Linked DNA regions of Homo sapiens: region 2 is linked to region 1. The links are contacts of gene promoters, found by promoter capture Hi-C in blood cells and fetal thymus (Javierre and others, 2016). All regions are on one chromosome and are shown on one strand. The core of a region is centred on a gene start or on the middle of the fragment in contact, and the rest is flanking DNA. Distances in the headings are between cores, read along the strand shown. Region 1 holds the start of PTF1A (pancreas associated transcription factor 1a). Region 2 has its middle 250 kb from the start of OTUD1.

Region 1 (5,125 bases), core at 72-2,571:
AGGACCCTTTCCTGGGTGCTCTCCGGTTATACTAGAACCACCCTCTTCCTCCACACTTCAAGTCCCCACCGTCCCCTCCCAGGAATCCGAGGAGCTGCAAGTCTGGCGGGGACGCGCGCCCTTGAGAGCCGCGGTCAACGTGGCAGAAAAATAAAAAAAAAAAAAAAAACGAGAAACGCGAGCTCGCATTCAAGTTTTTCCGTGCCCACCGACAATCCGTCGGTCCGACTGTCTGCTTGGCAGTCAGCTCCCCCAGCCCCTCCGGAGCCTTCGAGTGCCCGACCCCTTCTCCCTGAGCTGGGAAGCGGAAGCACTTACGGGTGCCCCGATGGCAGATGATGACCTTCTGGGCCTGGCTGCCCGGGCTGTCCCCGCCCAGGCGCCCGCCGCCGCCCGGCCCCCCGCAGCCGCCCGCGCCACCGCCGCGCAAGGGCAGGTCGGCCTGCACGAGCTCGCTGAGGAAGTTGATGTAGCCGATGGCCAGGCGCAGCGTGTCCACCTTGGAGAGGCGCTTCTCGTAGGGCAGCGTGGGGATGTGCGAGCGCAGCCCCTCGAAGGCGTCGTTGATGGACTGCATGCGCCGCCGCTCGCGCACGTTGGCCGCCTGCCGCAGCTGCTGCAGCTCCGCCTCGGAGCGCACCCGCCGCCGGCGCCGCGCCGCCGCAGCCGCCGCTCCGCTCAGGCCGCGCAGCCGCGCCCCGGGAGACAGTACTGCCGCCCCGGCGCACGGGTAGGCCAGGCACGAGGGCGGCGAGCCGGGCGAGTAGGGGAAGCCGCCTGGGGGCGCCCCCGTCTCGCAGCAGTAGCCGCCGCCGCCGCCGTCGTCTGGCTCACCGAGGCCCCCCGAGGACGGCGGGGCGAGCGCTAGCGGGGCGGCCGGGGGCGCGGGCTGCAGCAGCAGGCACGCCCCGTCGCGGTAGCAGTACTCGTGGAGCTGGTGGCTAAGGAACTCCACCTCGGCCTGCTCGTCCGCCAGCAGCTCATCGCCGTCCTCCAGGGGGTCCCGTGAAGACTGGTCGGTGAAGAAGTCGTCCTCGTCGAAGTACGAAGAAGGAAAGGCGTCTAGGCCCCCGGGGAAGTGCTCCAGCAACACCGCGTCCATGCTCGCCGCCGCAGTGGGCAGCGGGACTGCCGGGCTGCGCGTGTTAGTTCTTGGTGAGTTTCTAAGGCCCGTCCGAGCCCCTCCCTCCCGGGGCCCTGGCTGGGGGCAGCTAGGCGGCCGCCGGGCTGCCCGCCCCCGGGCCTCCCTGGAGTGCCCGCGGCCGCTGCGCTCTGGCCCGCGCTCGCGCTGCGCTGGGGAGGGCTGTGGCGGACTTCCTGGAGCTGAGGGCCGGCACGCGAGGATTCTTATAACAACATCCATAGGCGCGTGCCAGGGACCCATCGCGCCAGCCAATCAGAGCGCGGTGTGCCGGCGGCGAGGGGGCCCGGAGGCGCGGCGGTGGGCGGGGGTGGGGGGCGTTTTGCTCCCTTTGGGAGCTCCTGGGGCGAGGAAAAGGCGGGGTCGCGCGGCCCGGGGCTCCTCGCACCGCTCTCTTCCCTCTCCTCTGCCTCTGCATACTGGATTCTGTACCTGCCCCGCGTGCGGCTCCAGGGGCACCTGCGTCCCGCGGTGCCCGCTGCGTACCCGCGCGCGCTGAGCAGCGCCGGCTCCTTCCGCCCTGGGACTGGGGCAGCCGCGCGCCGCGTCTACACGCGGCCAGAGAAGTTCCTAGGGGTGCGCGCCGGTGGCCCAGACGGCGAGAGCGGAGCCCGCGCGGCGATCGTCCTCCTCCGCGGCAGCCTGGGCAATCTAAGGGTGCTGCCCTCAGGGACCAGGTGGGTGCATTCCGCCACCCCCTTATCCGAGGTGCGCGGGGCTCCGGCCTGGGTTCTGCTGGGGGCTTCTGTCCCATCTCTGGACTTTTCAAGGGCTTTTGCACAGTTTGCAGAGTATATGCGGGTGTCATTGGAAGGTGATCCGGGCCCACTCCCACTGCGTTCCAGACGCAACACGGGGGCTGGGAGCGCACCTATGGGACTCCGCTCTGGAGCCTGGCTGTGGTGCCTGGTGCGGGTCCCCAGCGACATCGGCTCAGTGGCTGCCTCCCCTGCCCTCCCCGGCCCGGAGAAAGGAATGGGGAGACGGGAGGGGCAGCCCCCAGAGCAGCTCAGCGGGGCGCGTTTCTTCTGAGAGCAAATCTAGACCCTAGGGATTCTGAGCAATAAACTGGATACAAAAGGAGTCCATTGAATCGTCTGCTCCGGCGCAGTCCGGAGGGAAGGCATTGAAGTTAAAGGGCAGAATGTGAATCGTTTTCAAAGCCCGAGTCTCTCACCTTTCCGACTGGCCACAGGGACCATCCCTGAATGACTTGTTTTTTTCTTTCTCGACCTTTCTTTTCTGAAAAAAAAAAAAAACACAAAACGTATGCAGCTCTGCCCCAAGACAGACTTTATCACAGACTGCGATGCAACGTGAATTCCTCTTTTTAAGAGCAACAAAGAAACACTTTCAAGGTCTGGGCAATTCCGGTTAAAAGCCAGGCTGCAGCTTCCACCCCGGGAGAGTTCAGAAGCGCAGCCATCGTGCGTATTCTCTCTACAGAGGACTGAAAGGAGTCGTCCTCCTGGGCCGCTTCCTTTTTCAGGCACTTGTCTCACTAGAGGCTTCTGTTGGGTATTCAGACGCCTCTCAAATTCCAAGTCATGCCTCTTCAGATTAGTGATTTAAATACGCTTCTTGGTTTTAGACATTGCACTGTAATTAACTGAATTGAGAACAAAGAGTTAAACCAAAAGATATATAAGGTTAGAAGGCCAGAGATTGCCTTACCTTGAACTGCCAACAACCCCAAACAATTTTAACCCAAGGACTGACTGGTTTTCAGTAGTTTTTTCCTGTGTTAGTTTCTCAGCCTTCACAGTGAAGGAGTCGTTCACTATTTGCATATCCTTAAAGGCAAATATGGACAGTTTCCCGGTGATAGAGCCTGAGCTGTGATTCTCTGCAATTAGATTTCTCTTTCTGACCTCAAAGGAAGGGAAGGGGTGTGTGTGTGTGTGTGTGTGTGTGTGTGTGTGTGTGTGTATCAAGGCCAGAGATCTAGCCAGCTAGTGATGTGCACCCTCCCCTTCCTCACGTAGACTAAAACTAAGTGGAAACATGCCCGTGCCCGTGGGTCAATGTGAAGACATGCAAGAGTAGCAAATTACCCAGCTTCAAAGCCTTATCGGAAATATTGACAACTATCCACTGCAGAGAAGACTAGAATTGAGCCTACAAAGTCTCTTTTCAAGAGGCTGAAAGGCTTTCTCTGGTGGCTCTCTAGACTGGTGGCTCTTGAGAAACTGTGTGTCATAGACATGTGGGTAGGTGGAGGACTGGGAGACAGGGGAGTGAGTGTGAATATATGGGTATCTTTTTTTTTCTTTTTTTGGGGGGAGGGTGGGGGTTGGGGGATAAAGTCTTGCTCTGTCGCCCAAGCTGTAGTGCAGTGGCACGATCTCAGCTCATGGCAACCTCCACCCCTCAGGTTCAAGCGATTCTCCTGCCTTGGCCTCCCGAGTAGCTGGGATTACAGGTGCCCGCCACTACGCCTGGCTAATTTTTGTATTTTTAGTAGAAACAGGGTTTCACCACGTTGGCCAGGCTGGTCTGGAACTCCTGACCTCGAGTGATCCACCCACCTTGGCCTCCCAAAGTGCTGGGATTACAGGAATGAGCCACCGTGCCCGGCTATATATGGGTATCTTTTTATTCAATATGATTTTAGCAATCCACTTCCACAGAAAATCATCTGACATTTTTGATGAGTTTGCAGAAGAGTTACAGAGAAATTCACGTTGAGCACCCAGTGAGCTCATGGGAAATTCATTGCTGCTAGCAAGCTTATTGTCTTATGAAGGGGGCAGAACTAGCCTGCAGGCTCTGGGTGGCTCCTAGGGGTGCATGAATGAGCATGGGATAGGAGGAACAGAAAACGTACTCACTTGTTTCAGACATAGCCCTTCCTACCCTTCCTCCTCCTCCTCCTCCCTCCACTGCCCTCGAAGTTTTTAAAGAATTGCTAGCTGTGTGCATACTGGCCTTGTTGAGAATCTAGGACAAGGCCTACAGACAGTGACACTGTGTCACACACACACACACACACACACACACACACAGGCTTTAAGTAAGACATGATCATTCTTTTCTCTTATAAAAAGAAGAAAGACTTCTCCGCTAATAAAGGAAATTTTCTCTGGGTCACTAGGGGTCACAACCATGTGGATGGCTGCCCTCTGCCACTGGAAGCAACAGGTTGGATGAGAAGACTGAACCTTACCTTGCCAGGCTAGAGCCCCCACCCCACCCCGCTCTCATTCCAGTCATGCCTTCCACACCCCTGGATCCTCTGGGCAGTTGGGGAGCCTGGAGAGGGGCTTGGTCACAAGGCTCCAGGAGTCTCAGAGAGAGAGAGAGAGAGAGAGAGAGGGAGAGAGACAGAGAGAGAGAGCGTGAGCGAACTCAGGCTTCTCACCACACCCTCACCTTGTAAAGAGCTCTGCCTCATTATAGAGTCGTATCTCATCCCCGGTGGGGGGCAGCAGAAGGAGCACTTGGTTCTTTCTAGACCCAATCCCTGGTGAGACCTCAAGACTTTTTCAAGTCTTTCAGCACAGGCTCAGTGCCACCCTGTTGCCTTGGGCCTGGCAGATTCCCAGGCTTCCTTCCGGCTGCTAGTAGGTCTTGTCCCATCTCCTAGGTTCTCAGCTGCAGGAGAGCTTCTGGCCAGGGCCATTGATGTTGAGCCTTGGTCTCATCTCTTCTGTCTCTGCCTGTCTCTTGTTATTGTTTTTAGAGACAGGATGTCACTCTGTCACCCAGGCTGGAGTGCAGTAGTTCAGTCACAGCTCACTGCAGTCCTGAACTCCTGGGCTTAAGGGAGCCTCCTGCCTCAGCCCCCTCAGTAGCTGGGACCTCAGATATGAGCCACCATGCCACCATGCCATACTGCGCTCTCTTATGCTTTCTCTCTCTCTTTCTTTCTCTCTCTTCCAGCTATCTCTCCCCATCAGGAGTCTTGGGGACTTGAATATTTATTCATTTCTTTCTCATCAAACATTTCCAGAGTCTTTTCCCAGCTTCTAGGAACAATGACTA
Region 2 (4,790 bases), core at 1,744-4,243, 500 kb before region 1:
TTATTCATTAAAATATTTTTAATGGAAAGGGTAGAGAGTGGGAAGTGGCAAGTAAAAGAGGCAAAAATATTCTCCATCCACATACACTGTTTTTCAACCTTTTTAAAGTTACTGAAGTAGAGTCAGATCTGGATGAAGCAGCAGAAAGTTTCATTAACACTCTTGATTCTCAAATGGAAGCTCAACAGAATAGAAGCAAGCCTGAGATCCTAGTCTACTGTCTTAGGTTTAATGATCTTAAACACTCCCGCATTTGAAAATTCAAATTCTAGCTAATTAGACAAAATTATGGATATCCTTAACGATGCATTAGATTTCACGAATAAATAGAATAATTAAAATAAGTAACGTACAGCCCAGCATGTTCCTAATTAGAACAAAGGAGTACTAGAGAAGGCTGTAGATTCATTGCCCCGAGGGCTTCTTGCAACTGTAACCGTCCTATTTTTTAACGTGCAAATGTGAAAGCACCCTGACATCATGAAGGAATTACATAACTAGTTCCTCGTTCTGCATCTTTCAAAAGCAGCAATTTTTCAGTAGGAATCACTGTTCCTGAAAATGCTAATTCAGATTGATAGTGTGGGAATAGGCAAGTCATTGACAAATTAAAGGCATGATTTGAAAACAAAATTGTCAAGAGGCAGCTATGCTGGTACACAGGAACCTTCTTTGTTGGGTCACAGTTTTCGTTCCAAGCGTTCAATGCAGCAAGTAAGTGATGCCATATTAGCAGGTATCAGCCTGGCTAACATGCCACAGTAAGTAATGCTTATTTGATGTGGCAAGCCTAAGCCCTCCTTCCTTATTTCCCACTGCCTTCTGTTCACAACTCTACAACAACTGTTTTACTTTCTGATGTGATTGGTTGTTTGTATGTCTGCCTTCCTTCTCAACTTACAAGCTCCTCCAGGGCAGGAATTCTGTTTTTCTTTTCTTAGGACCCAGTGCAGTGCCTGGTATAAACAGCAGGCACTTAATAAATATATGTTGACTGAATTATTTTTTAAAGAGTATAACATAACATTTTAAAATCTGTTTTAAGCTGAACCCTATAGCATATATGTGAAACAAATGTGTATATACATACACATATTTACACATATATACACATGTGCACGTATATACACATGCACACATGCATATGTATGTATGTATGAAACTGAAAAGATGGAAAGGGGAAGAGAAGAGAAAAAAGAGGGGAAAGAAAAGGAGAGGAAAAAATGAACTCTGAAAACAGTAACTACCAATGGCTAAACAGTGACTCAATCTGAGTGAGGATTTGAACTGTCCGTAGAAACATCACTTGCTGCCCTTAACCTGTGAGATTTCTTTCGCATTGGTCTATTACCATGTACATGTTTTAAATTTTGGGGGTTTGGACCTCAGAAGCACTGTTCAAAGTACATTACAAATATTTCCCATTGCTTAGGAAGCAGCACATCATTTAAGTTGGGTATATGTGTTGGTGGTGAGTTCAGAAACACTGTTAGCTCAACGTGCCCTGGACTGTGCCCTAATCAGTGTGAGGAGAGTCAGAGTCCAGCAACTGCAATTATAGCCCAACAGGCCACAGGCCAATGTTTATGACTATGCTCTCAAACACAAGCCGCTTATGGCCAGGTGGTTCAATTGTCAAGCACAATAAAGGGACCAGGTAGAAAATTAGCCACACACACACACACACACACACACACACACACACACACACACACACACACACGTACATCAATCCATAGCTATGGAGCCAGAACATCATGTTTACAAGGAAGGAATAGCTCTGTTGGGTGTCAAAGAGTAGGGTCTTGGAGTGGGAAGGTAACTACTTTAATACTGCAGTGGCTTTTCATCACATACTCCATAGCCATTAAAGCTTCTAAGCCAAACCCTCTAGCAAATACATGTTGGCAAAACTATGGAGAATCATAATTCTGTCCTTCTAGAAGCTATCTCCACAGCAAAACAAGCTCCCCCTATCCTGGAGGCAGCTTCTCATTTTCTGTAACACAAAAGCAAATTTTAAAAAGACAAGAATAAGAATAAAAATTAATTATTTCTCATAGGACTTACCTTCCTATAGGCCCCTGAAAACCAGTTAGCACCAATCTTGTACATATTTATAGCATACCTATATATACGTATTTGTATATGTAGCTATACATATATGCATATATATGTATATAGACAGAGATACACACATATATATACACCACTTATAAAATATTGCCAAAATGATTTTAATAAATCTATTCAATTATGTAGGTATGTTTCTAGAGTGACATTTAGAAGAGGGCTAAAATAGCTCATCATAAAGAAAACATGATCAAAACATTTTAAACACTTGTTTCAGAGCATAGCAAATTTGGCAAAAAACACTGGCATTTGCCTGTAACTTCTCTCAGGACTTGAGCTGGCTCTTAATATTTTATGCTTCATGATATATTAATAGTTTTGTATTTGAACGGCTTGTGTAGTGCCCTCTAATCAGATAGAGTTAACCCTGAAGACAAAAATCGAAGTGGCCAATTCCTTTTTAAGGAGTCCTAAACTGATAAGAAGGCCTAAACTGATAAACTCAATAAATTCAAATTTCAAAAATATCATAACCAAAACAAGTAGTTGACATTATACATTTATAAATAGTACTCCCAAGGTAGTGCCAAGTTAAATTTCATACTAAAATGTTAATGAAGAAGCATTTAGATAACCAACTATTTTGTGGATAATGACAGATTAGCAATAATTTTGTGATGAAAGTTGGACTCGGCTATTATATTTAGAAATAAGGACATTTTACTTACACATATGTTTATATGTGGTAACTGTACTTCATCATAGATTTTCGTATGGAACTTACAATAGACCATTCCCTGAATCTTTTGTGATATATGGAACACTCTTCCTAAGTGGACTGCACTGACATCAAAGAACATCTTTGTGACATTATCAAACCTAATGATCAATAGTAAAAGGACAATTCATTGTTGTTTCCAGTTCAAGTTTTAAGAAGGGCTTCCTTAAAGGGTAGATCGTTACGTGTTTTTATAAAGGGTACCTCTATATGTAGATTTGCTTATCTGTGAAAGCACTGCCGCTAGTTGCAAAGTTTTCATTTTCCCCATTACTGGGTCAAGAAAAGTCCTAGCCAAGAGAATGGATTTAGAAAGTCTGTACCTATCAGACTTGGTCTCTCCACTCAAAGAGCCCACAGTCATCTTTTCCCCCCTTTTTTGTGAACTCCCTGTGAGTTGTGCTCTGGGAACTTGGAATGCAGACCTAGACCTGGGCAAGTAGGGGAGAACTGAATTTATGGGAACCAGTTGGAATTTCTCTTAATGTTTCAAGAAGTGTTTTTAGATGGTTTTAGTTACAGTACTTTGGTTCTTCTTGACTTCTATGGAGCAACTTCAACCTAAATCTAAAAGAACAGTTGCTTTTATCCTTCAGTTCTTCAAAAACACTTATTTAACACAATTTCATGCCTAGTCTCTTTCCACTTTTGCAGAGTAGCTTTTTTTCATTTAAAATGTCTAATTCAAGCAATTAGAATTTAGGCACCTCTGGGCACCTTGTCTGCCTACGTGTTTATAAAGCATTATATATACTTACTGCACTCTATAAATAATAACAGTAATCACCCTCTATACAAAATTAGAATGTTAGCATATTCAACCAGTCTAGTATGCTGATTTGCTTTAGTGCTTTATAATTATCTCATGAAACCTATGGTAAAAATGGGCACTACATTATACAATCTTCCCAAAATATGTTACTATATATTCTGGCAAAGAGATGCACCTGCAGTTTATCCCCACCTACCTCTGAGATACAGAAATGGTAGGATGATACTTAAGTTGTATTCATGTTGCAAACTGTTCCAAGTAATCTTTTCAGCCTTTTTCATCCAAAAACCCAGCCAGCATTTAGTATGGTTAAGATATCTTTGTCCAGGAGAAGTAACTTGAACAAGAAGATGGCAATGTATAATTTGCCCCCACATAAAGGATAGCTTGCAAATTATAGACTGCAACATTTAGATAACCAACCACTTTATGGATGATCACAGATTTATCACATGAAACATAGGGCCTAGGGGCAATTATGTAAGCTTTAACCAGTGGTAACTACCAATGGCCACCATTGTAAGCTGTCTGAGTTTCCATTGTCTGATTAAACAGCAATCAGAAGAGTAGCCTTGACTTTGTTGGAAAAACAGTGAACTGCCTCTCACTTTCAAACTCAGAGAAGAGAGCAAAGGCATTCCTGAAAATACAGAAGGAAAAAAAAAAAAACTCTTGGTTTGTGCTAAGCAGCGCTACTTGTCTCTTGCTGCAACAAAGGTGCCAGGTTGAAGTAATGAAGTTAGTACTGCAGCTGAAATCATTGAGCAGATAGGTTACACATCCAAAATACCCATGCCGTCTGAAAATAAATAGTGTGGAAAGAACGGCAGTACATAAAATTGAAAATCTCACACCATTCCACTACCTAAAAAGAGGGAGCTCCCTGGCTTCCCTGCTTTTTGCCTAGGGTTTTGCTTCTGATGCGGTCATGTTATTTTAATGTGCCAGAATAGAAACCTTGGCCAGAGACTTAGGCAGTCAAAAAAATTCCATTGTCTTAAGCTGTATATTTATCCTTCTGAATTAATTGAATATAGCACCATATAGTAAAAATGCCTCTGACACTGCTTCAGAAATACCTAAGGCAGAGTTCTCAGAAAGAACTGCCACAGAGCCAAAATGTTGGCAGAGGCGCTGAGTCTGCAGTCGGCAATCCTAACTCTCCCG

Evidence for each region. Contacts are between HindIII fragments. The CHiCAGO score rates a contact against its expected background, and 5 or more counts as called.
Region 2: a fragment that was not itself captured here is called in contact with the fragment with the promoter of PTF1A in region 1 in 1 of 17 cell types (M2 macrophages); the score reaches 5.2 in M2 macrophages.

Annotation. Positions count from the first base shown.
Region 1 is chr10:23,188,508-23,193,632 of GRCh38, reverse strand. PTF1A (pancreas associated transcription factor 1a) reads right to left here and starts at 1,321. Exons shown (of 2, transcript NM_178161.3): 1 at 319-1,321. The coding sequence starts at 1,102. The HindIII fragment of the contact is 14,718 bases long and covers 1-3,872 here.
Region 2 is chr10:23,688,618-23,693,407 of GRCh38, reverse strand. No RefSeq gene overlaps it. Among named protein-coding and RNA genes, the nearest start is that of OTUD1, 250 kb to the right of the region's middle. The HindIII fragment of the contact is 2,235 bases long and covers 1,876-4,110 here.